Regions from separate parts of the Homo sapiens genome. Here all the other regions are linked to region 1. Evidence: promoter capture Hi-C in 16 types of primary human blood cells and fetal thymus (Javierre and others, 2016). All regions are on one chromosome and are shown on one strand. Each heading gives the region's core, a stretch centred on a gene start or on the middle of the fragment in contact. The rest is flanking DNA. Distances are from core to core; before and after follow the strand shown.

The links. Contacts are between HindIII fragments. The CHiCAGO score rates a contact against its expected background, and 5 or more counts as called.
Region 2: a contact is called between a fragment that was not itself captured here and the fragment with the promoter of CDKN1B in region 1, in 3 of 17 cell types (M0 macrophages, monocytes and M1 macrophages). The highest score is 6.6, in M0 macrophages.
Region 3: a contact is called between a fragment that was not itself captured here and the fragment with the promoter of CDKN1B in region 1, in 1 of 17 cell types (M0 macrophages). The highest score is 5.4, in M0 macrophages.
Region 4: a contact is called between a fragment that was not itself captured here and the fragment with the promoter of CDKN1B in region 1, in 3 of 17 cell types (non-activated CD4 T cells, fetal thymus and M0 macrophages). The highest score is 6.0, in non-activated CD4 T cells.
Region 5: a fragment that was not itself captured here is called in contact with the fragment with the promoter of CDKN1B in region 1 in 2 of 17 cell types (total B cells and megakaryocytes); the score reaches 6.3 in total B cells.
Region 6: a contact is called between a fragment that was not itself captured here and the fragment with the promoter of CDKN1B in region 1, in 5 of 17 cell types (naive CD8 T cells, total CD8 T cells, non-activated CD4 T cells and 2 more). The highest score is 7.2, in naive CD8 T cells.

Annotation. Positions count from the first base shown.
Region 1 is chr12:12,714,980-12,718,617 of GRCh38, reverse strand. CDKN1B (cyclin dependent kinase inhibitor 1B) reads right to left here and starts at 1,250. Exons shown (of 3, transcript NM_004064.5): 1 at 304-1,250. The coding sequence starts at 778. It also overlaps a transcript of GPR19 not described here. RefSeq lists silencers at 684-872, 1,297-1,866 and enhancers at 1,047-1,146, 1,227-1,276, 3,533-3,612, 3,623-3,638. The HindIII fragment of the contact is 7,251 bases long and covers 1-3,638 here.
Region 2 is chr12:11,852,953-11,856,592 of GRCh38, reverse strand. ETV6 (ETS variant transcription factor 6) reads right to left here. Exons shown (of 8, transcript NM_001987.5): 4 at 3,032-3,166. Among named protein-coding and RNA genes, the nearest start is that of ETV6, 210 kb to the right of the region's middle. RefSeq lists an enhancer at 856-1,432. The HindIII fragment of the contact is 1,377 bases long and covers 683-2,059 here.
Region 3 is chr12:11,720,722-11,724,411 of GRCh38, reverse strand. The region is part of intron 1 of ETV6 (ETS variant transcription factor 6); the gene reads right to left. It overlaps LOC124902879 (a long non-coding RNA gene), which reads right to left. Exons shown (of 2, transcript XR_007063212.1): 2 at 1,979-3,690. Among named protein-coding and RNA genes, the nearest start is that of ETV6, 73 kb to the right of the region's middle. RefSeq lists an enhancer at 1-157. The HindIII fragment of the contact is 1,349 bases long and covers 606-1,954 here.
Region 4 is chr12:12,029,465-12,033,072 of GRCh38, reverse strand. No RefSeq gene overlaps it. Among named protein-coding and RNA genes, the nearest start is that of BCL2L14, 40 kb to the left of the region's middle. RefSeq lists enhancers at 170-269, 720-769. The HindIII fragment of the contact is 4,828 bases long and covers 1-3,608 here.
Region 5 is chr12:11,745,003-11,749,015 of GRCh38, reverse strand. All of the region lies in intron 1 of ETV6 (ETS variant transcription factor 6), which reads right to left. Among named protein-coding and RNA genes, the nearest start is that of ETV6, 97 kb to the right of the region's middle. RefSeq lists an enhancer at 2,785-3,004. The HindIII fragment of the contact is 1,624 bases long and covers 1,189-2,812 here.
Region 6 is chr12:11,991,617-11,995,499 of GRCh38, reverse strand. No RefSeq gene overlaps it. Among named protein-coding and RNA genes, the nearest start is that of BCL2L14, 77 kb to the left of the region's middle. The HindIII fragment of the contact is 4,872 bases long and covers 1-3,787 here.

The sequences.
Region 1 (3,638 bases), core at 1-2,500:
CCCTAGCCAGGAGGCGGACCGTTGATAAACATCCCAACTTTGTCACATACCTAGGAGTTGCTAGTGAGAGGGACCGCGATGTATTAAGTTAGGGAAATTATCGGATCTTACCATCTCCAGTTTCTGACTTAAAAGTCACAAACAGACAAGCAGTGGGCCAGGTAGCACTGAACACCTAAGACCAATAAAGTTAGCTCTCCCAAAGCTAAATCAGAATACGCCGAAAAGCAAGCTAAGGTTAACACCCTCCAGCAGGCAAAGCGGGGCCCCAAACACATTCTATGGTTGGGAAAGGGTCATTACCGTCGGTTGCAGGTCGCTTCCTTATTCCTGCGCATTGCTCCGCTAACCCCGTCTGGCTGTCCGACGGATCAGTCTTTGGGTCCACCAAATGCGTGTCCTCAGAGTTAGCCGGAGCCCCAATTAAAGGCGCCGCCGGGCGGCTCCCGCTGACATCCTGGCTCTCCTGCGCCGGCACCTTGCAGGCACCTTTGGGGGGCCGCGGGGGTCTGTAGTAGAACTCGGGCAAGCTGCCCTTCTCCACCTCTTGCCACTCGTACTTGCCCTCTAGGGGTTTGTGATTCTGAAAATCGAAATTCCACTTGCGCTGGCTCGCCTCTTCCATGTCTCTGCAGTGCTTCTCCAAGTCCCGGGTTAACTCTTCGTGGTCCACCGGGCCGAAGAGGTTCCTGCAGGCCGAGGGCTTGGGGTGCTCCGCCTGCCTGGCGTCCATCCGCTCCAGGCTAGGGCTCCCGTTAGACACTCGCACGTTTGACATCTTTCTCCCGGGTCTGCACGACCGCCTCTCTCGCACTCTCAAAAAAACAAAACCGAACAAAACAAAGCGCCCCTACGCAGCCCGAACCCCTCTCGGAAGCCCAGCGACTGCCCTCGGAGCCAAAAGACACAGACCCCGACGAGCCACGGCCCGAGCTCTAGGAGCGCGCAGGGGCTGCGGGGAAGCCCCGGCCCGGCCGCCGAGTCTCCGCTGATCAAATGGACTGGCGAGCGGGAGGGCGGAGAGGAGAGGGGACCAGGCAAGCGGAGAGGGTGGCAAAGCCCGTCCGAGTCTGGGCGGGTGCAAGCCCGCGGGTCCCGCGAACCCAGCCGCTCTCCAAACCTTGCCGGCGTCGGAGTCGCAGAGCCGTGAGCAAGCGGGGACAGGGGAGGGGGAGAAAAACACCCCGAAAAGACGAGCCCCCTTTTTTTAGTGGCCCAATATGGCGGTGGAAGGGAGGCTGACGAAGAAGAAAATGATTGACACGGCGAGTCTATTTAAACAGAGGAGGAGATCCATTGGTTGCGGCGGCGGGAGCCGCCCCGCCGAGGCTGGCGAGCGCGGCCTTAAGGTGGCCCCGGCGCGGTTCCGCCACCTCCCCTCGTTCCCGAGCGCGCCGCCTCCCCGAGCGCCGCCGGGAGATTGGCTGGTCGCGTGACTGCTGGAGGGGTACTGCTGCCAACAAACCTGCTCTGGCTGGCCTCGGAGAAATTAAAATTAAGACAAACAAACTAGCCAAACGGCCGGGAACCTGGGGCGGGGCCTGAGGTTCGGGGCCCGGCGCTGCGTTGGCGGGTTCGCCGCGGCGCCTAAGCCCCGACCTCCCTCCCGCTCCTCGCCCGGGAAGCCGGGACCTGGACCAGAGGACCGCGAAGGTCGCCGGCAGCTCGCTAGGAGCCGGGGTGGCGAGCTGCCCCCAGCTCGGCCCTCCCCAGCGGCCCCCACCTCGTGGTCTGCGGGGGAGGCCGCGGAGCGTTTGCTGGGGGGGCTGGGCGCCCCCCCGCCGGCGTGCCTTTGCTGGGGGCTGGTGGAGGCAGTGGGCAATGGTTCGCTCAGCCTTAACCCAGAAGTTTCTGCCATCCCTGGGGAGGCTGGGGGCCTAGGGAAGAAGCCAAAGCGAACGTCTTTCTTTTAGAAATTAGCCAGGAGTAGACGCGGCACTTATCATGAACTCAAGCTCTCCCTCAATGAAAATAAGAAAGGAACTCAAGATTAAAAAAAAAAAACAAAAAACTCTAGTCTCTCAAGTCCCTTAATAAACTTTGTAGCTGTCTCAGACACGTTTAGTTTTGAAAAACGAGGGTACACCCCTGGCCCAGGATCTTCCTTCCCAAGCACAGTTAAGGCCATGGACATTGGCTGCGTGTGGGAACTCGTCCCTTTCTACTTTTCTGTTCTTTCCCGGGATTGTAGCAGTTTCCTCTACCTGAGTCCAGCCGCCAAATACAACAGCTCCTTCCTTCCTCCACCCTTCTCTCTCACCAGATTTCACTGCTCCAACAAACTCAGAACAATATTCAGATGCTAGTGAATGCTTTCAGAGGGCTGAAGGGTGAAAATACTCCCCTCGGGGTCAAACTCCAGATGATGAAATGATTTTTAAAACACCACAACCATGTCCTAACGTCCGATACTAGTATTCCAGCGTTTCTCTTCTCCCTTTTGCAGCTGGAAATTTCTCTCTCAGTGTGGGCTTGAGCACCGTGGTGGAAGGTAAAGTAGGACGATGAGCAGGGCTGCCCTGAGACAAAGCTCAGTGGATCTTCAACTGCCTCCCCACCCCCATGCCCGGTACCCATCATCTTGGTTTGAGCCAAAGTTAATGCATTTTACTGGAAACCAACCTTCCGTTCTAATATTACACAGCAGCAAAGTTTTCTTAAGCACCTATGCTACAGATGAGCTTGATGTGTAGCTTGTTTTCTTAGCCACATCTTGTCCACTTTGTGTGCCTACCTCATCTCATACGCTCCAGAATGTGACAGCTGGAAGGGACCCTCGGGACCCTGTGGTTTAACCCTCTCCTTTTTACCACGGAGGAAATCGAGACTCAGAGAGGTTTCCTGTCCAGGGACATGCATTCGGTTGGTACCGGAGTCAGGACTAGATGCAAGTCTCCTAACACTCAGGTTGGTTCATTTTCTGTTCCTTTCCTTCCTAATGGTTCTCACTGGTTCAGGGTTTTGTCTGAGTTTGATTGTGCTGTAGTCTGCAGGTCCTGCTGTCTTACAAGTGACTGAAAATGGCTCCTTCCCAGGCCCTGGGTTGCCTGCAGATGTTTCCTTGATGTGGCCTGTGGTCACTGATATTTAAATGCAGCTGTCTTGAGCCTGTGGTATCACCATCCACTAGTTCAACTAAAATTGAAGGACAGGGGTTGATACCCAGAGAACAGTAAAGGGGGCAGTGCCCAGAACTAGTTTTCAAGTCAGGACTTCCTACCTAACTGACAGAAAAGAATTCACCTAGGATCAAGCAAGAGGTCTCATCCTCTTTAGTTTTTCTACTTTTAAGGCTGTCAATTTATTGGACTGCAGACTGGGGGAAAAGGAACAGGAAAATTAGGGTAGGCCTCCCTACCATAATTTATACCTTACCCTAGAAATTAGATAATTGTCCAAATTTTAAAACAATTGCTAGACAACACAGGAACTCTATATATGTGCATCTATCCATATGCATAAACACCCAAACTACCACATGTATGTAAATGGAGACATTCTAGAGTAGTTCACCTTGCCACAGAAGTTTGATTTTACTCATGGAATTCATGTCTTATATGGAAGTGGAAAATAAACACTTCGATCCCCTTCACATGCTGAATCTTTCAACTAATATGTAGGAGCACCATTTTGTCGCT
Region 2 (3,640 bases), core at 122-2,621, 860 kb after region 1:
AGCTGAAAGGCAGGAGGATAGGGAGAGGGCCACCTCTTCATATCACTTCTGTGCCTTGGAAAGCTCTTCTCCCTGGATACCACCGGATAAAGACCTACACTTCTCTCCTTGTTGTGTGCACCTGTTCACTGGAGCACATGCGCCCGGACATGCTCTCAGACCTTGCTTCCTGGCCATGAGCTTTAAGGAATGGTCTCTGAAAATGCACTACTTTTAAGAGCTGGGTCTGAAGCAGAGCTAACTGGTCTGCAGGGCAATGACACCCTTGACCTCGGCCTCATTAGCTCCATCCTCTTACCTACTGAGCTCACAACCACCAACATCATAATACTTGAGAGAAAGCTCATTACAGCGTATGCGGTGGCACATCTGTATTTACTTGGTTTGCGAGCAGCTCTCAGAGTAAGCCAGCTTTCTCTATTGCTGAGCTCCTGCAAATGAGAACAACAAACACACCTACTGCTGAGTCAAATCAGGCCAAAGGGAAAAGAGGAAGGATCTGTGAGGAGGAGAGACCATAAGCCTCCAATCACACTCAGGAATAAAATGGGGCTAAATTCCAAATGAGATTAACAAAAAAAATAATGAGAGAAAGACTAAGAGACAGAAAGAAAACCCATCACATACCCTTTGTATCTGAAAGGCAGGCTAGGTAATATATTCCTTGCCTTAATGTCAAGCTTCAGTAAACCCACCTCCTCTTCTCTGGAGTGGCTGGTGGCTATTATGCAAGCCGGAAATGCACATGGCAGGAAGAGCAAAAGAATGAATAACTGAATTGGGGGAGGAGGGCAGCTGCTAAATTTAGCAAGGGTAGAGTGAGGGGAGGAAAGGATGAGAGGAAGGCAGGGAGCGTGCACGAAATGCTGTTCGTTCTCCATCACGGAAGCGAGGGGCCCTGCTGTGAAATGCTTGGCACAAGGAGGTGGTGTCATCGCCTGGAGTCAGGCTCTCTTTTGTGAAGTGTTAATTAGGAAAAACAAGAAACTTCTCATTTTTTGGTTTGCCAACAACAAAACAAAATTGTTAGCCCTGCTCTTGGGGATGAGCAATCATTTTAAGGAAATGCCCCAAGGGACCAGGGTTTGAGGTCCCTAGTAATCTGCACCTAAGGAAAAGTACACATGAAGAAACTGATGCACGTTTGGACGTCTGTGGTCTGACCAATCCGAGCAGGAGGATCATGACCCTCAGAGGCACGATCCATCACTGAGTGCTCAAGCTGTTCAACTGTTTAATGCAATGGTGCTCAAGTAAGGTTTCCTTTCGCTTTGGTTTGGTGTTTTTGAGACAGAGTCTCGCTCTGTCGCCCAGGCTGGAGTGCAGTGGCGCAATCTCAGCTCACTGCAATCTCCACCTCCCGGGTTCACTCCATTATCTTGCCTCAGCCTCCCAAGTAGCTGGGACTACAGGCGCCTGCCACCATGCCCGGCTAATTTTTTTTTTTTTTTTTGTATTTTTAGTAGAGACGGGGTTTCACCATGTTAGCCAGGACGGTCTTGATCTCCTGACCTCGTGATCCGCCCGCCTCGGCCTCTCAAAGTGCTGGGATTACAGGCGTGAGCCACCGCGCCTGGCCTCAAGTAAGGTTTTTATACTCTATTTCTGTGCCCCAACACCTATTCTGGAACTAGGTCCAGGGCCTAAATTAAATTCTGGTCTTTTGCTTTCTACCAATGATTAAGAGGAACAACTGGGACACTTGAAATAAACACCGCCACTGAGTGAACTCTAACCAGCCTCCTTTGGTGCCCTATGCAGAAAGCCCTGGCCCAACACTGAGTTCATAGATTTGGGTTTTTTTTTCTTTCCTTCTTCCAACTTTTATTACCCCTTGCTAAAAAACTCTCCAATGACTTCCCATTTCTTTCCTCCATATTCCAGAAATCAAAGTTCTCCACACTCTGGTTCCAAGCTAAGCTCCTTGGACTAGCTCTGCAATGACAAAATGCTGATCATTGTGAAGGCAAGGGTGATGGCTCAGAAGGGTTTATTTATTTTATTCTATTTGGAGTATGTTTGAAATTTTCTGTAATAAAAGAGTGGGAGAAGATAAGCTTTATAATCCAAGTCATCTAATTGCTCTCTATTTCAAAGCCTTACCCCACCCTTACGTCATTTTCTTTGCCTGGAATGTTCTTCACTTCATCCTTGCTTATCAGAATCCTGCTGGATTTCTAAGGCGGGGTCCCCAACCTCCAGGTCACTGACTGGTACCAGTCCATGGCCTGTTAGGAACTGGGCTGCACAGCAGGAGGTGAGCGGTGGGGGCAAGTGAGTGAAGCTTCATCTGTATCTAGAGCTGCTCCCCACTGCTCGTATTACCGCCTGAGTCCCACGTCCTGTCAGATCAGCAGCGGCATTAGATTCTCATAGAAGCACAAACGCTATCATGAACTGTGCATGCGCGGGATCTAGTTGCACACTCCTTACGGGAATCTAATGGCTGATGATCTGTCACTGTCTCCCATCACCCCCAGATGGGAACGTCTAGTTGCAGGAAAACAAGCTCAGGGCTCCCACTGATTCGACATTATGGTGGATTGTATAATTATTTCATTATGTATGATAATGTAATAATAGAAATGAAGTGCAGAATAAATGTAATGCACTTGAATCATCCCAAACCATCCCTCACCTCCACTGTTGGTGGAAAAACTGTCTTCCACAAAACTGGTCCCTGGTGCCAAAAAGGGTGGGGAGCACTGCTCTAAGGCATACTCCAGAGTTGCTTCCTTTATGAGAAGACCCTGCTTCCTGCACCTGGCTGTCATGGACCCTTCCACCACACCTTTACGGTGCCTACTATATGGTTACGCTTCTGTGCTTCTGTGTACATCCATCTCACTGCTTCGCTTTGATCGTGAGCTTCAGGGAACCAAGAGTGTATTTTGTACATAGTAAGCACTCAATAATTGTCTACTGAATGAAAAGTGAACTTACACGAAGAAGACCAGCTTATCAAGTTAACAATTAAACTTCCTGGATTTGTCTAAACCTCAGGCAAGAAAAGAGAAACCTCTTCCAGTACCTTCTTCATGGTTCTGATGCAGTATGACCTCCGGCTGTGTGTGTATAGAGTTTCCAGGGTGGAAGAATGGTGAAAAAAGAATCCGAGGTTTCCTCTGCTTCAGAATATGCTGAAGGAGTTCATAGAGCACATCACCTGGAAAGAAAAAGGAAAGGGAAATCGAGAAATGGAAAGATGTTTTTCCAACAACGATCTACGGAGCAGCAGCTAAGTGCCTGGCACGGTGCCAAAGATACAATTGGAGCGCACCTGCCACCTCCTACCCTCACCAAGCTCATGGGGCACAGAATGCAGCACTTGAAACTCAAAAGGTCAGAGCGATGTGAAGTTGTAAATCAAACTTTTTTGATTATGAAAATCGTATACTTTTTTTCTGAGACAGGGTTGCGCTCCGTTGCCAGTGCTGAAGTGCAGAGGCACGATCTCGGCTCACTACAACCTCCACCTCCCAGGCTCAAGTGATCCTCCCACCTCAGCCCTCCAAGTAGCTGGGACTACAGGTGCGAACCAACACACCCAGCTGATTTTTGTATTTTCAGTAGAGACAGGGTTTCACCATGCTGTTCAGGTTGGTCTCAAACTCCTGAGCTCAAGTGATCCACTCGCCTA
Region 3 (3,690 bases), core at 31-2,530, 990 kb after region 1:
AAAGTCTCCTGGTACTGATGGGCACAGGCCCACTCCACGTGATCGGCTCAAAATACTAAGGATCCACGAACAGGCCTTGCAGCTTTCTCCCAAACCATACTCCTTTCTCTGGGAGCTGCCTGCCAAGAAGGCTGCGCATGGAAACCTTAAACCTTGCTGTAAGCCCTGGCCACATCAATGGTGCAAAAGTAGCCCCTATCAGGACCTGTCAAGGGGAAACCTGAGCTGCAAGAGTAACTGGAGACTCAGGCAGCTGACCTGCTTACGATCCCTTAGTTGAGAGTTTAAACCAACTGTAACTGGGCAGTACTTGACAACCAGCTTCCCTAATGAGACCAAGAGTTAGGAGAGCTGACACACAGCACCCTCAGGTCAGGGGTGGGGGAGGGAGTATGCCACCACTGCACGGGTCAGAGAACATAGGGTGACTTTAAAGGCCCTGTTCTTCCTCTGGGCACCCCCGAGAGTGTAGGTCCGGCCCTCCCAGACCAGGACTCCTATGCTCTTCCTGGGGACTCTCAATGACACCTGGCCTTGTCCCAAGGAATACTCGTTTTAAAGATTTTTGATGGGTGGTCCAGGTAGAAGCTAGTGAAATAAAAGCTTTCTCAATGGTTGGTGATGCCACCTTGTCTTGACATGTGGGCCCCTGCAGTTGGGGAAAAGAAAGAGCAGAGGCCAAATTTACCAATGTGTTGGTCAAGGAGAGGCCAGGATAGGACAAAGGAAGAGAAGGGAACCCTGATAGATAAACCCTGTTTGATTTTTAAGGATAACGAGATTCAAGTAATTAATGTTCACCAAACTCCTACTATGTGCCGGGTACCACGCTGGAATAAAAGGCAAAGAACAGGTGAACAGTCCTGAAAAAACTCACAAAGGTCATACTTTATAACTAAGGTACATTTTCTTTTTCATTTAGAATGGATTAATTTTGTCACAATATGGCTTTTGAAGAGCAAGAAAGAATGGAAGGGAAAAAGGAATAACTGAAAGTGGAAGAAAGAAGGCAAGCAGGACATGGGAAAGGAGGGAGAGTGCGTTGTGGGTATTAAATGTGATAATCCTTGCAAAGTACTGAGTCAATCTCTGGCCTATAGTAAGTGCTCAAAAAATATCAGTCACTATATTCATTGTTACAGAGAGCCTATAACCGTGTCATACTAACCTACAATGCACACTTGCCATAGAGCAGGGAATGTTCTAAGGGCTTATCACATATTAATTCATTTAATACTCACAATCCTATGAGATATTAGGATTCCCATTTTACAAATGAGAAAACGAGGGTACAAAGAGATTCTGTAAACTATCAACTACCCAGTCACACAACTACCAAGTGAGAGATCTGAGATTCAAGCCCAGGTAGTCTGACTTCGGAGCTCAGCTTCTCATTGGTTTCACCTGTGGTTATTAAAGTGCGGTCCCTGGAACCGGGAACTTCTCAGATTTGCAAATTCTTTGTCCCACCCCAGTCCTACCAAATCAGAAACTCTGAGAGAACGGCCCAGCAACTGTTTCTAAAAGCCCCTGAGGTGATTCTGAGGAACACCAGAATTTGAGCACCTCTGCATTAATTACATTACAGTGCTTCTCCACGTAGTGGCTAAGTTAAGGCAGATAAGAAAACATCACTTCCTCCCCGGATCTGGCCTCACCTGGCAATGGGCAAAGGTCAAAATATTTGGGTTGTCCATTTCTCTCAGTTTAGGGCCTGGCCTACAACTGGGGTTTGGGAGAGTAACTTCAATTCTCTTCATTTTAGGAGAAATCAGTTTGGCTTTTCTGACTTTACTCTTTGACGTAGAAAGCCTAGGAGAGAACAACAGGCCTTGAATATTCTTAGAATAGTTTAACTCCTTCATAACGTCTGAACATCAGTTAGCAGATTTAATAGGCTGCAGTGCCCCAAAATGTCCACCATTAGATTAAAAATGAAACTTAAAAGAAAGCTTTGCTTCCAGTGTGTTAATTTAGCTTCCAACAATGCCTAGCAGGTGAATGTATCTCTACATTTTACTGGAGTTAACTCAATTATTCAAAGCGATTACAGTTTGTGGATTATCTGAGCCTCCTTCTTCTCCTCCCTGGAGCTGCTCACCTTTTGGCCATTTCACTGTTCATTAGCACCTCTACTGAAGATACCCAGGGGAGAATAAAAGGTGAGGAAACTCAAACCAGTCGACTTTTCTCCTTGTTAGCAGTTCTGATAAAGACTTGGTGGGAGAAGAATTATTATTGGCTAAAACAAGACACTGGGATTATCTATGGCTTCAATTTTCCATGCTCTCCCAGCCCCTAATTATCAGATACAGTCAAGTCAGCCTAACTTTATAGTGACAGCCCAGTCTACAAGTGAGCAGGGGCATAATATTCAAATTCTAGAATTTCCACAGAGGTAACCTATGATACCTTCTTCCTTAAATTACAGCTCTCAAAAATGCCAGGGTGATGGACAACTTTGATCACAGGTGAAAAGGCTCAAAAAGAGATCCCACAGCATTTTAACAGCTGACTTTTCCCACCATTCAAACTTTCTATGACCTAACAGAATATGTACATCTTAATATTTTACTCTCGTAAGAAAAATAAGGAAACTAATGTTCATTAGGCATCTATTATATGCCAGGGTGCCAGACCCTCTGCTGGATGTCTTATAAATATTACCTTGCTTAATTCTAGAACAATTTAGGAAATATTTTTTCTTTTCCAACTTTTACTTTAGACATAGGGTTTACGTGTGCAGGTTTGTTACATGGGTATCTTGCATCCAGGTAGTGAGCACAGTACCCAAGAGGTAGTTTCTGACTCATTAACCCCCTCCCGCTCCTCCCTCTAGTAGTCCACAGTGTTTATTGTTCCCATGTTTATGTTCATGAGTGCTCGATGTATAGCTCCTACTTATAAGTGAGAACATGCAGCATTTGGTTTTCTGTTCCTGCATTCATTCACTTAGAATTATGGTTTCCAGCTCTTCCAACATGGTTACCCATGTTGCTATAAAGGACATGATTTCATTCCTTTTTATGGCTGCAAAGTATTCCATGGTGTATATGTACCACATTAAAACAAAATCAAATCCACTGTTGATGTGCACCTAGGTTGATTCCATGTCTTTGATACTGTGAATAGCGTGGCAGTAAACATACAAGTGTATATGTCTTTTTGGTATAATGATCTAGTTTCCTTTGGATATACACCCAGTAATGAGATTTATGGGCTGAATGGTAGCTCTGTTTTAAGTTGAGAAATCTCCAAACTGCTTTCTACAATGACTGAACTAAGTTACATTTCCCCCACCGGTGTATAAGCATTCCCTTTTCTCCATAGCCTCACCAGCATCTGTTATTTTTTGACTTTTGATAATAGCATTCTGACTGGTGTGAGACAGTATCTCGTCGTGGCTTTGATTTGCATTTCTCTGATGATTAGTGATAATAAGCATTTTTTCTTGTTTGTTGGCTGCTTGTATGTCTTCTTTTAAGAGGTGTCTGTTCATGCCCTTTGCCCATTTTTTAATGGAGTTATTGTTTTTTTGCCTCTTGATTTAAGTTCCTTATAGATTCTGGATATTAGACCTTTGTTGGATGCACAGTTTGCAAATATTTTCTCCCATTCGGTAGGTTGCTGTTTACTCTGTTGATTCTTTTGCCGTGCAGAAGCTCTTTAGTTTAATTAGTTCCCACTTGT
Region 4 (3,608 bases), core at 134-2,633, 690 kb after region 1:
CTCCCAGGGTCTTTTAATTCCATCCTGATTGGGGCCTGAGAGGAGGGCATGGGTGAGGTGTGAACCAGCAGCGCCCTTTCTTCCTTCTCGCTCCGCCCCCAGGCAACACCCTCCAGCACCCAAGCCTACCCTCTTCCTCCAACGGAAAAATGCACACGGCATATCCGTGTCTGTCCACATGCCGGATTTCCCGGCCAGTTCTGATGTGAAATATCTTGAAAGTTTGCTAAGGGGCCACTTTATATTAAAAGAGGATTAAAAAATAAAGAAAATCCCATACCTCCAATCTGAAAGTCTTTTCTTGGTGCCATAAAAAAACTGAGCTATCAGCCCTCTGGTACCTTCGATTCCAGGCCAAAGGCCACTGCCTGGTGGTGACGGCCAACGTGGAGGCACCCAGGCCAGCTCCCACGGCATCTCTGCCGACAAGCAGTGACTCCAGCAGATTGTAGTAGCACCTACACAGCCAGAGCTACACCCAGGTGCTTGCTTTGCTGCAGTTTGGGAGGGATCAATGTTCCAGAGCAGCGGCTCACCAACCTTAGCATGGCTCAGTTGCTGGGCTCCACTCCCAGAGTTTTTGGGTGAATGCGTCCAGGGTGCGGCTGGGAAATTTGCATTTTTAAGAATTTCCCCCTGAGGCTGATGCTACAGTCTGGAGACCACACTTTGAGAACCACTATTTCAGAGTAAAATGCTGGTGGGAGGAAAGGAGCAGCAGGAAACAGCCGATGACTGTGGTGTGGCCGGTCTTTCTCCCAGGCGGGGTGGGGTGTGTGTGCCAGGATTGCAGGGTCACCAGGAGGGCCGGTTCTGTGGGGGCTGCTGAAAATCCTTATCCCTCCTTTCTAGACTAGTGGTTCTGAGACTTGGCAGCACATTGGAATCACTTTGGGAGCTTAAAAAAAGATACTGATGACTGGCTTCTAGCCCCAGACGTCCTGATTTAATTGGTTCACAATGTGGTTTGGGCCCTGGAAGATTTAAAAGCTCGCTAGGTGTTTCTGATGTGTAGCCCAGGTCGAAAAATCACGGTGCTAGGTCCACGTCTTACTGCATTCTTATATCCAGTCCCCAGTAAGTGTAAGTTCTCACCACCCATTCTCAAACCCTTCCAGCTGTCTCTCATACCTCCCTGCCTCAGGCTGAAAAACACTGGCACCTGTCTGAGTACTGACTTCCTATTTATCCTTCAAGACGCAGGCCAAATATTTTTTCCGTGGTGGAGATTTTTCTGGCTTTCCCTAACAGTTCATCTCCTAAAGCACTGTGGATACACTAGAACTATAACCTTTATCTTTCACTTCATCGCAATTACATTCACGTGCTGAATGTAATGATGTTTCAGTCAAAAACCGACTGTATGTATGAAGGTGGTCCCATAAGATTATAATGGGGCTGAAAAATTCCTATCACCTAGTGACGCTGTAGCCATTGTCATGTTGTAGCTCAATTACTTTATTTTAAAAATAAACAGTGTAGCCTAAGTGTACTGTGTTTATAAAGTCTACAGTAGTGGACAATAATATCCCAGTCCTTCACATTCACTCACCACTCACTCACTGACTCACCGAGAGTAACTTCGAGTTCTGCAACAGCCATTTTGGTAAGTGCCCTATACAGGTGTACCATTTTTAATCTTTTTTTTTTTTTTTTTTTTGAGATGGAGTCTCGCTCTGTCGCCCAGGCTGGAGTACAGTGGCCCAGTCTTGGCTCACTGCAAGCTCCGCCTCCCGGGTTCATGCCATTCTCCTGCCTTAGCCTCTTGAGTAGCTGGGACTACAGGCGCCTGCCACCATGCCCGGCTAATTTTTTGTATTTTCAGTAGAGACGGGGTTTCACTGTGTTAGCCAGGATGGTCTCGATCTCCTGACCTCGTGATCCGCCCACCTTGGCCTCCCAAAGTGCTGGGATTACAGGCATGAGCCACCACGCCCAGCCCATTTTTAATCTTTTATACTGTACCTTTTTCACGTGAGGTTTGTTTAGATACCCAAATACCATTGTGTTACAAGTGGCTATGATATTCAGTACAGTTACTTGCTGTACAGGTTTGTAGCCAAGGAGCAATGGGCTATACACCGTAGCCTGTTTGTGTTGTAGGCTGTAGGCTGTACCATCTAGGATTCTGTGAGTGCACTCTATCATGTTCACACAACAAAACTGCCTAATGATGCATTTCCCAGATGTATCCCTGTCGTAAAGCCCTGACTGTATTTCTGTTCATATCTTCCCTCCCTGCTTGATGGTTAATAAAAGTTGGTGATTGAATGAATTCCATAGTTGGAGATAATGTTAAAATGCACAGGTTCTCTTTTTTGTTTTGTTTTTTTTTTTATTGGAGACAGGGTCTCACTCTTTTGCCCAGGCTGGAGTGCAGTGTTGCAATCATGGCTCACTGCAGCCTCGACTTCCTAGACTGAAGAGATCCTCCCACCTCAGCCTCCTTAGTAGCTGGGACCACAGGCGTGCACCACCACTCCTGGCTAATTTTTGTAGTTCTGTAGAGATGGGCCTTCACCATGTTGCCCAGGCTGGTCTCGAACTCCTGGGCTCAAGCAATCTGCCTGCCGTGGCCTCCCAAAGTGTTGGAATTACAGGCCTGAGCCACTATGCTCGGCTATTGCACAAGTTCTGGATAAGGAAGTTTATTAATATCAGTTCTGTACAATGAACCTAGTGCCTCCAGTGGGGTCAGACTTGGGTGGGTGCTGGAGAAGCAAAGTTGAGTGAGCAGTGCACACTGCCCCTGAGGAATGAATTCCTCTGCAGGCTGAGCTCTCTGAGGCTCCTTGTGCTTTCATCATGACATTTAGCTTGGGAACTGCTTTCAGAGATACTGACCTGGAGCACAGAGGAGCCTGGGTCTCCTTTTCATCATGCTCTTCTGTGGCTCTCACCACCCACAGGATTAAGTAGGTTTCTTTGCATGTCTTTCATAAACTTGCGCTTGTCTGCCTCTCCCAAATATTTAATTCCTTGACCCTGTTTGATGCTTGGATCCTAGTTCCTTGCACACACCATGCTATTGCCAACTTATACCTTTCTATTCCCCTGAGATGATCTTCTCACCTTTGCTAGTCCGGGTAACTGCCAAGGCTTGTGGGCCTTCCTGACCCCCCAGGCTGAGTGCCTTCTCCTGTATTATATTCTCTTAGGATTTTATACATACCTCTATCATTATGTGGAAATAATCCAAACTAGTTTTTTTATGAGCCTGGCACACAGTAGGTGCTTTATAAGTGTTGAACTGAGATGAATGCTTACAGAGTGATTCTCAAACTTTATTCTACCTATGCATCATTCACATGCAAAACACACTCCCACACTTTATATCGTGCATGAGACATAGTGTTTCTTCATCCAGGGTAATGGGTTTAGAATAGGTAGGCACATCCTTCCAGGGGAATCAGGATATGAGTGGGAGGTAGGCTGGGACTAGTTAGAAATACCCTCCTTTTGCCACCTAGATTCTAATGTGTGTCTTGTTCTCAAGTTGAGAGCTGCTGAATTACTATAGGCCAGGTGGTGAGCTAGGCACTTTTAAAATTATTTCTAGAATGTTCACATTAGTCTTGCTAGGTGGTTATTATTATCCTCATTTTATG
Region 5 (4,013 bases), core at 751-3,250, 970 kb after region 1:
ATACCTATGAGCAGGTTGTCAAGGAGGCGGCACAAAGCGCTGGGAAGAGAAAATAAGGCAGAAAACTGTTGTAGGCAAGAGTTGAAATGTAAATTTCACCAACCATTATAGAAAGCTTTAAAAAAAATAATGAAGTATGGAGTAGGGTTGTCTCTTGAAAGCGTAAGGACTGAAGCCAAAATGAGCTGCGTTCCCTCTCCCATTTCTCCCCTAGCCATGAAGGGCCAATGAAGGGTACCCATCTAATTCTGCTCATTTTTAAACTGAATGCTTAGGAGCCCGTGACTTCCCTGTAAAATAGGTGTATACAGTCTGTGCTCAGTAGGAGAATGGCATTTCTCCACGTTCCCCCACACCCACCCTCAGGTTGCATATTACAGAAGAGTCAAAAAATGAATATTATTACCAAAAGGTCTTTCCTCTTCAAAATTATTCAATATAAAGCTTCCATAAATCACGGGGATCCCCTAGCACATTTACACATTTATTATTATACCCTCTGAAAAGGCTGAGGGGTTGGGAAACTTAGAGCCTACTGCTAACTAAATATTAACATTCTGGAAATAAAGCATTTTTGGAATTAATTAAAACAGAAATAAAGTTGGTTGTGCTTGCAAAAAGATGGTTTGCAGGTAATTTCAAAGATTTCTCTGCTGCAGAACTGAGATGTCCTTGATATAGAAACTTTTCCTGGAAATTGTCCCTATCCCCATTATAAATGCCAGGACTGCCCCCAGTGATGGCTTCTGAAGCCTAGTTTGAAAGTCCTGAGGAGGAAGAGTGTCATGGACACAGGATAGTGGTCATTTCCCCACAGCTAGGGTAAAAATGCCACAGGCATGCTTTCATCCCATTGCACTTCGGTGTCCCATCACTGTGAAGAAACCTGCAACCCAGATAAGATGGAAAACAGCAGGCACCAGTGACAAGAGTGGTCATGCCAGCAATATTCAGTATTTTGAGAGAAGGATCTCTTTTCCACCCTGCAGGTGTTTAGAAAAGCTGCCTGAGAAAGCTGATGCTTGTACCGTCGTCAACTTCTACAGATTCAACAGAAGAAACCTCTCCTATGGGAAGCTATTTATTGAAATTTATTAAAGTGAAGTCTGAATACACAAGTATTTAAGTACACTCTTCTGGCTGCAAAAATTTCAAGTGGTGGTGATGTTGGCTTTCATTAAGTAAGCTTTTATTAACAAGCTATAGACACATTAACAAAAAATTGAATACGCTGAAATTTGAGCTCTAGAGTTTTCTAGGTTTCTGCCACCAGGAAAGCACAGATATACACAAGAACCTAAAGTAATACACTCTTGAAAGTCGACATTTTTTTCACTTGAAAAAAGCTATTGAATATTTTGTCCACTCCAAAATTCAGTGAGACAAACGTAAAGAATTTGAGAGAAGATGCAAATGCCAGTCTTCTTTTCTAAATAGACATTGTACACACAGCCACAGAGAGTAACATTTTTGGAATCTCCCCAGAAAGAAAGAGCATACCCTAGCATCTCGGCTAGAAAGAACACCACAGAGACTCAAATGCAAATTTTGATGTAGCAAAATCCACATCCACCAAATCACAGAAGTGAAGTTCATGATTTCTTTTCATCCAGAGAGTTACCAGAAGATGGTTTAGACATCCAAGATGGTATAGGGGCCCAAGCTGGCTTTCTTCTTGGTGTCCAGTGTCCCCCCTGCCCTGAAAGCAACATCCCTCTGGATGCTAAGCCATTAATTTTTACAAGCCAAATGGTGTTTGGGTCTCAACATTCATCTTGCAGAATACATATCAGTACTTCCAAGGGGAAAAAAATGAGTGTACCCTGTGAAAATGAGGATGGGTAGGAACTATACTCCTAGCATCTGAAGTCTCCTCTCTAGGTTACCCAGATGGCCCACTCAGCCCTTGGGGAGAGGGTACGCCAGACAAACCAAACTCAATGTTGCTGTGGGGATCTTCCAAGGAGCCCGCTTCACCAGTCTTAAGGAGTGCCCTTTCTCTAGTTTATGTAGATGGTTCAGGACGTGAGATATTCGGATTCCTGTTTAGAACTGAAATTGTCCCTTTCTTCTGCCTTTCTGGATGGTTACATCCTAAAATCAGAAGGCAGTATATTGCTTCTGTCAAGCAGATACAATTAAGTCAAAGCATCTTAAGTCTTCCTCTTACCCAGACCTGTATTATCTTTGCATAGTGAGATTAAAAAAAAAAAAAAAAAAAAAAAGAGAGAGAGAGAGCATTAGCAATAAGCCCTGCAATCAAACATCTCTGTAAAAGGTCATTGAGTTTTTTTTCTCCCTATGATTAAGAAATATTTCAGCATCCATCAAGGGTCAACTATGAGGCTAGGCCTATAGCAGGCATTACAAATTATGCAATCATACATCCTAGAATTTCCAGGATGGTCTCAATATTTAAAGTTCCGTGTCCTTTTACCCATAAATACATATGGGTAGTTGTATATAAATACTTAACACCTCTCAGAACACGTGTCACAATTGTAGCTGGAAAATACAGTCACTGCCACAATCAGGAAAGAGAGCTAGCATTAAGTGAGCATGTGGTATGTGTTCCCATGAAGCCTTTATTTTATTTCAGCCTCACAATGACCCTGCAAGGAAGGCATCGTTATCTCCATTCCGCAATGAGGAAACTGACTTGAAAACCGCAGTTCCAGTCACTAGCTTGGGAGATGGTGTGGCTGGTATTTGCGTGCAGACTGATCTAACTTTACTTCTCTGAACTGCTTTATAATGCCAACCAGTCAACAATGACTTCACAATGGGGAATTCCAAGAGACAGGTTCAAGCTTGTAAAAATCATAGCAGCCTTCGAATATTTCGTTGCTCTGCATCCTCACTCCTCACAGAATTCCAGCAGGATTCTTGAGGGTGACTCAACAGAGCTGCCTAAGCCAAGGCACCTACCTTCTTATGCATGTTGCTTATCCTATGGGTAGCACAGACTGAGGGGTAAATGCATTCAGCTGACGGAAGGGGACTCTATCTGATGTATGAGAAAAGTTCTCATGGCATGACCCCTGAGCAGGAGTAGCCATTCGAATTTATCCAGGGATCTACATTAACCATGGGACACAATCAGTAGGACCAAGAGGGCATTTCCAGGTTGCTTATGCAAATGATAACTTGGCCGTGGCTAGAAATCTCACTGGGCATTTTTGAGTACAAACATATTACTTTCTATCCTAACATTGTCTTTAACAACAACGGAAGACATTTCCCTTGTTCTTATCTGCTTACCCAAGAGCAGCAAATCTAAAAGTACAGGTGAGATAAATAGAAGCAGTAAGGAGGAAAGAAGCCTGCCAACATCTATTTGGTGCCTATAGTGGGCAGATCTCTACACCAAGAAGGAGCTGAGTCTGCCCCCAGAAATCACAGTGGCCGCAGTCCAAGCAAGACCTCTCCAATGGCCCAAAGATGCACATTCCCAAGAGGGGAATGGATGAAGGCATTAAGGATATATGTGGCCTGTGGGGGAAAAAAGATTTAAAATCTTCTCGGAGATGTCTTCAAATATAGGAAGGACAAGTCTAAGAGAGACTCAAGGCTTGCTTGTAGTAGCAGAGGACAGAGCCAGCAACAGATACCGATGCACTAGAAGGAAGGCCTTTCAAACAGCTGAAGTCTCCAGATAAATGGGCGATTTACTGTTCTCCTAAAGCTGACTTAATGCTGAGGCTGAACAGTTACTCTAAAACACGTGCTTGCACTGGGAAGGAGCTGGAGTAGGAGAACTTAAAGGTTCCGTATAACTGCAAGATGCTGGTTCTATACAATCTTATCTCCCCTGGTAAGTTAGAGCTTATAAATTACAGTGTGGGTAGAACAGCTCCAAATAAAACACGGACACCACAGTCCCCTTCTTTATCAATTACTCCCCTATGCCTCCTCACAGGATCCTAGGGTTCTACTGAATATAATTAGAAAAAGCACTAGTTTCTAGAATTAGGAGCAATTTCTTTAAAGACAAGCACCAAAGCAAAAAACTT
Region 6 (3,883 bases), core at 102-2,601, 720 kb after region 1:
TTTTAGATTTGCCTCGATTCTTTCTTGCGCGAGCTCCAAGAACCCTCTCTTGGGGTCTGGATCGGGGCCCCTTTCCGGTAACAGGATGGGATGCTATCTTCAGATAGATAGCATTGGCATTGAATTGAAGGACATGCAGCTTGTGTCCGTGTTGTTTGTTGCGTGAAAGCAGAGGAAAAGCAGTTTGTGTGTTTTCTCTTCTGAATTTTACTGACACAATGATTCTTTGATTTTGGAAAGGATTCTGAGTTCTCTGTGCACTGACGCTCCCTGGCTATGATTTCTTGGATTACTTCTTGAATTTCTTTGATTATTTTCCCTTATGTCATTATTTGGATTTGTTCTTTTGATGTGTTCTGCTGCAATGTAATCGTAAGTTCAGCTGCAAGACGTCAGGTGCCCCATCCTTCACGAGGAAGAGGCGAACACAGGCTCTTGGAGTTAAAGCTGATAAGATGCGTGGGGCCAGGTGGGAAGGAGCCTTGTTCTCTTTCCTTGGCTCCGTTGTGCATTCTTACTCTCCACCTTGCCAGCATGTGTGAGGTTTCTTTAAATCCTGTTTGTGATTATCTCACCTTGAGAAAGTAAAGGAAAAGGAATACAAGTGCCAATTTGGAAGGATTTGGATGTATCAGACCAGGAATTTCCCACAGAATATTGTTATTGTTACTCAACTTTTGCCCTTGGAGAAAGGTGAAGGAAAAGCCACGTTGATCATGTTAGGTGTATATGTGTATGTATATATATAATTTTTTTTTTGTAACTTTTGCGACAGTCTCCCTCTGTTGCCCAGACTGGAGTGCAGTGGTGCTGTCGGCTCACTGCAACCTTTGCCTCACAGGTTCAAGTGATTCTCATGTCTCAGCCTCCCGAGTAGCTGGGATTACAGGCGTGCACCACAACACCTGGCTAATTTTTCTATTTCTAGTAGAGACGGGGTTTCACCATGTTGACAGCCTGGTCTTAAACTCCTGACCTCAGGTGATCCTCCTGCCTCGGCCTCCCAAAGTGCTGGGATTACAGGCAGGAGCCAACATGCCCAGCCAGGTGTAGATATTTTTTCTTCTTTTTCAAAAAAATTTGGAATTAGAGACGGGTCTCACTAGGTTGCCCAGGCTAATCTTGAACTCCTGGCCTCAAGCAATCCTCGCACCTCGACCTTCTAAAGTACTGGGATTACAGGTATGAGCCAATGTGCCTGGCCAGGCATAGTCATTAAGTATGATTTGGTTTGGAAATCAACAGTGTTCATTTAGCAGTTATTTTGTCTGACTTTCTAAGACCTCAGCCCCTCCAAAAATTCTCTTCTGAAGGCACAGGAATCTCAGGACAATACACTAGCACAGCCAATAACAATTAGTTCTCAACTCCTCTGCCTGGATCTTAAAAAGAAACTAGCCAATGAAGGGCAGGTCCCCATTCTGATCTCATGGCCATGGAGAGGGGGATCAGCTGTTTCCTAGCCATCTGGATGAGTGGGAGCACCCTGAGAGTTGTAAGTCCTCCTCAGAGTGAGTGCTTTGGTGCATGTCTTGTTTAGCTGGATGATAATTTGAGACCTAACCTGATATTTACAATTTCCATCATAAAAGAAAGGCAAGAAAAAAAAAAAAAGAGGGGACTGTCTTTCAATTGCCAAGTTATACGTTAAGGGAGGTAATGAACATCCTCATGCTTCATTCATCCTGAGCAAGAAATATCAGATTGGAGGAATACGCTGCATTGGGACCTAGAGTGGGAGAATAGAGTGATGGCTTCTCTATCTTTTCCTTTGCTGTGTACAGTCCCCAATAACCCTATCTTTCTTAAGTGGCTAGTGTAGAGTGGCCAACTTAATTAAAACACACAGGAGGACTAGGGAGGATTTGGATAAGCCATTGTCACCATGGGGGCCATATGAGAATGTGGATGACTAATAGCAAAACTGTCTCCACAAATGTGGAGAACACACCTCCTGCCAATGTTGGATTAACTGAATGATCTCTGGATATTGAGAGATGCATCGTAATTACTATTAATAAGAATAAAATTAAAATGACAGTAAGCAATACATTGGCCTCCCATCAGGATTTCTTGTTCTGAAAATAGATGTCTCCTACAGAAGGCTGAAACAAACTGGAAGGAGCCCCTCCTCAGGTGATAATGTGACACCTTCCTTGGCCATGTGAATAGTGAGCACATGCTTGGAAATTTAAAATGGAAAACAGAGAACATGTGACTGGTCTCATTCTGACCTGTGGTTTTTTTTTTTGCCATATCATGTCTTATCAGACAGGATGCTTTCTTTAGCACTCGACAAAAGCAGTCCTACCCCAAATAGCTTAGGCAAAAAGGGAATTTATTATTCATGTGATGCTCTGGGCCTGGGGGGCTGCTTGTTTTCACATTGCTGCCATCATGCCCCCTTTCTATGTATGTCATGACCCTAGCCACCTTCATCTTGGCCTTATTCTCAGAGTCTCTTCCTTTGGGGTCACGGTGGCTGCACAACTCCACGCTCACCTCTTCTCACCTTCAAGTCTCAGGGGAAAACATATCAGGTCACTTTTCCAGAAGTCCCAGCAAAAGTTCCATTTCATCTCATTGGTGCTATTGCATATTATGGGTGCTATTGGATTATTGCAGAGAATGCAGCGCTTTGACTGAGAGAAGGAGAGGTAGATTCTTGTGAGGGCTGATTTTAGGTGTTAACTTGACTGAGCTAAGGGATGCCCAGATAGCTTGCAACACATTATTTCTGGGTGTGTCTGGGAGGGTGTCTCCAAAAGAGATTAGTGCTTGAATCAGTAGGCTGAGTAAAGAAGATAATCTTCATCAGTGTGGGCAGGCATCATCTCATCTGTTTGAGCGTTCTAATAAAACAAAAAGGAAGAGGAAGGGCAAATTCACTCTCTCTCCTTGAGCTGGGACATCTGTTTTCTCCCGCCTTTGGACACTGGAGCTCCTGGTTCTCAGTCCTTTGGACTCTAGGAGTTACACCAGCAGTCCCCACACCATTCTCAGGCCTCTGGCCTCAGACTGAATTACCATTGGCTTTCCTGCTTCTCTAGCTTGCAGACAGCAGATGGTGGGACTTCTCAGTTTCATAATCATGTGCGCTAATTCCCATAATAAGTCTCTCTCTCTCTCTGTGTGTGTGTGTGTGAGTGTGTGTGTGTGTGCCCACTCAGTTTTCCTGGACAACTCTGACTGATATATTCCTGAAACAAAAGTCTTTAGCTGTAGGCAAAAAAAGGTAGAATGGATGTTAAGGAGGCAAATGTCAGTTGTCCACTCTATCTGTAACCTCAGTAGTCACTAGTTTTAGGCTCTTGTTCTCTGAGATCCTCCCGCTGTCTTGTCTGTAATAAGTTCGGAACACGTGGGTAGAAGAGAATATACCGGGCTCCTTCCTGAAAATTTGTTGGAAGCTGATGAACTCCAAAGTCCTGCCTCTCTCTTGGGTAAACAGCTGCCTGGAGGAGAGAGTTGGTATAAACAGCAATTTTATATGTGCAGTTGAAGCATGGGGAGAAATATAGGCTCATGGGTCTTCCTGAACTATCAGGCACATAAGAATAATTAGTGTTCAAATAATCTTGCCTCTCAGCGGATGCTTGCTGGATCATCACAGATCCCGATTTTATCATCTGACCGTTCCCAGACCAGTAAAAGCCTGTGCCTTTTTTCCCTTCCAATCTGTGTCCCCAGATGAAAGCCTAGGAGCCACAATACGGTGTCTGGTGATGACTTTATCAACTAGGAATCTGGCAAGGGATCTGCTTTCTGGTTAGATAGTAAGAAAGCTTCAGGCCATTTGATTTGGTAATTACTGAAAAGCAGAGGAAAGTAATTTTTTGTTCCCTATTCTTGGGAAAAGAACAAATAGAAGAATGTCACTGCT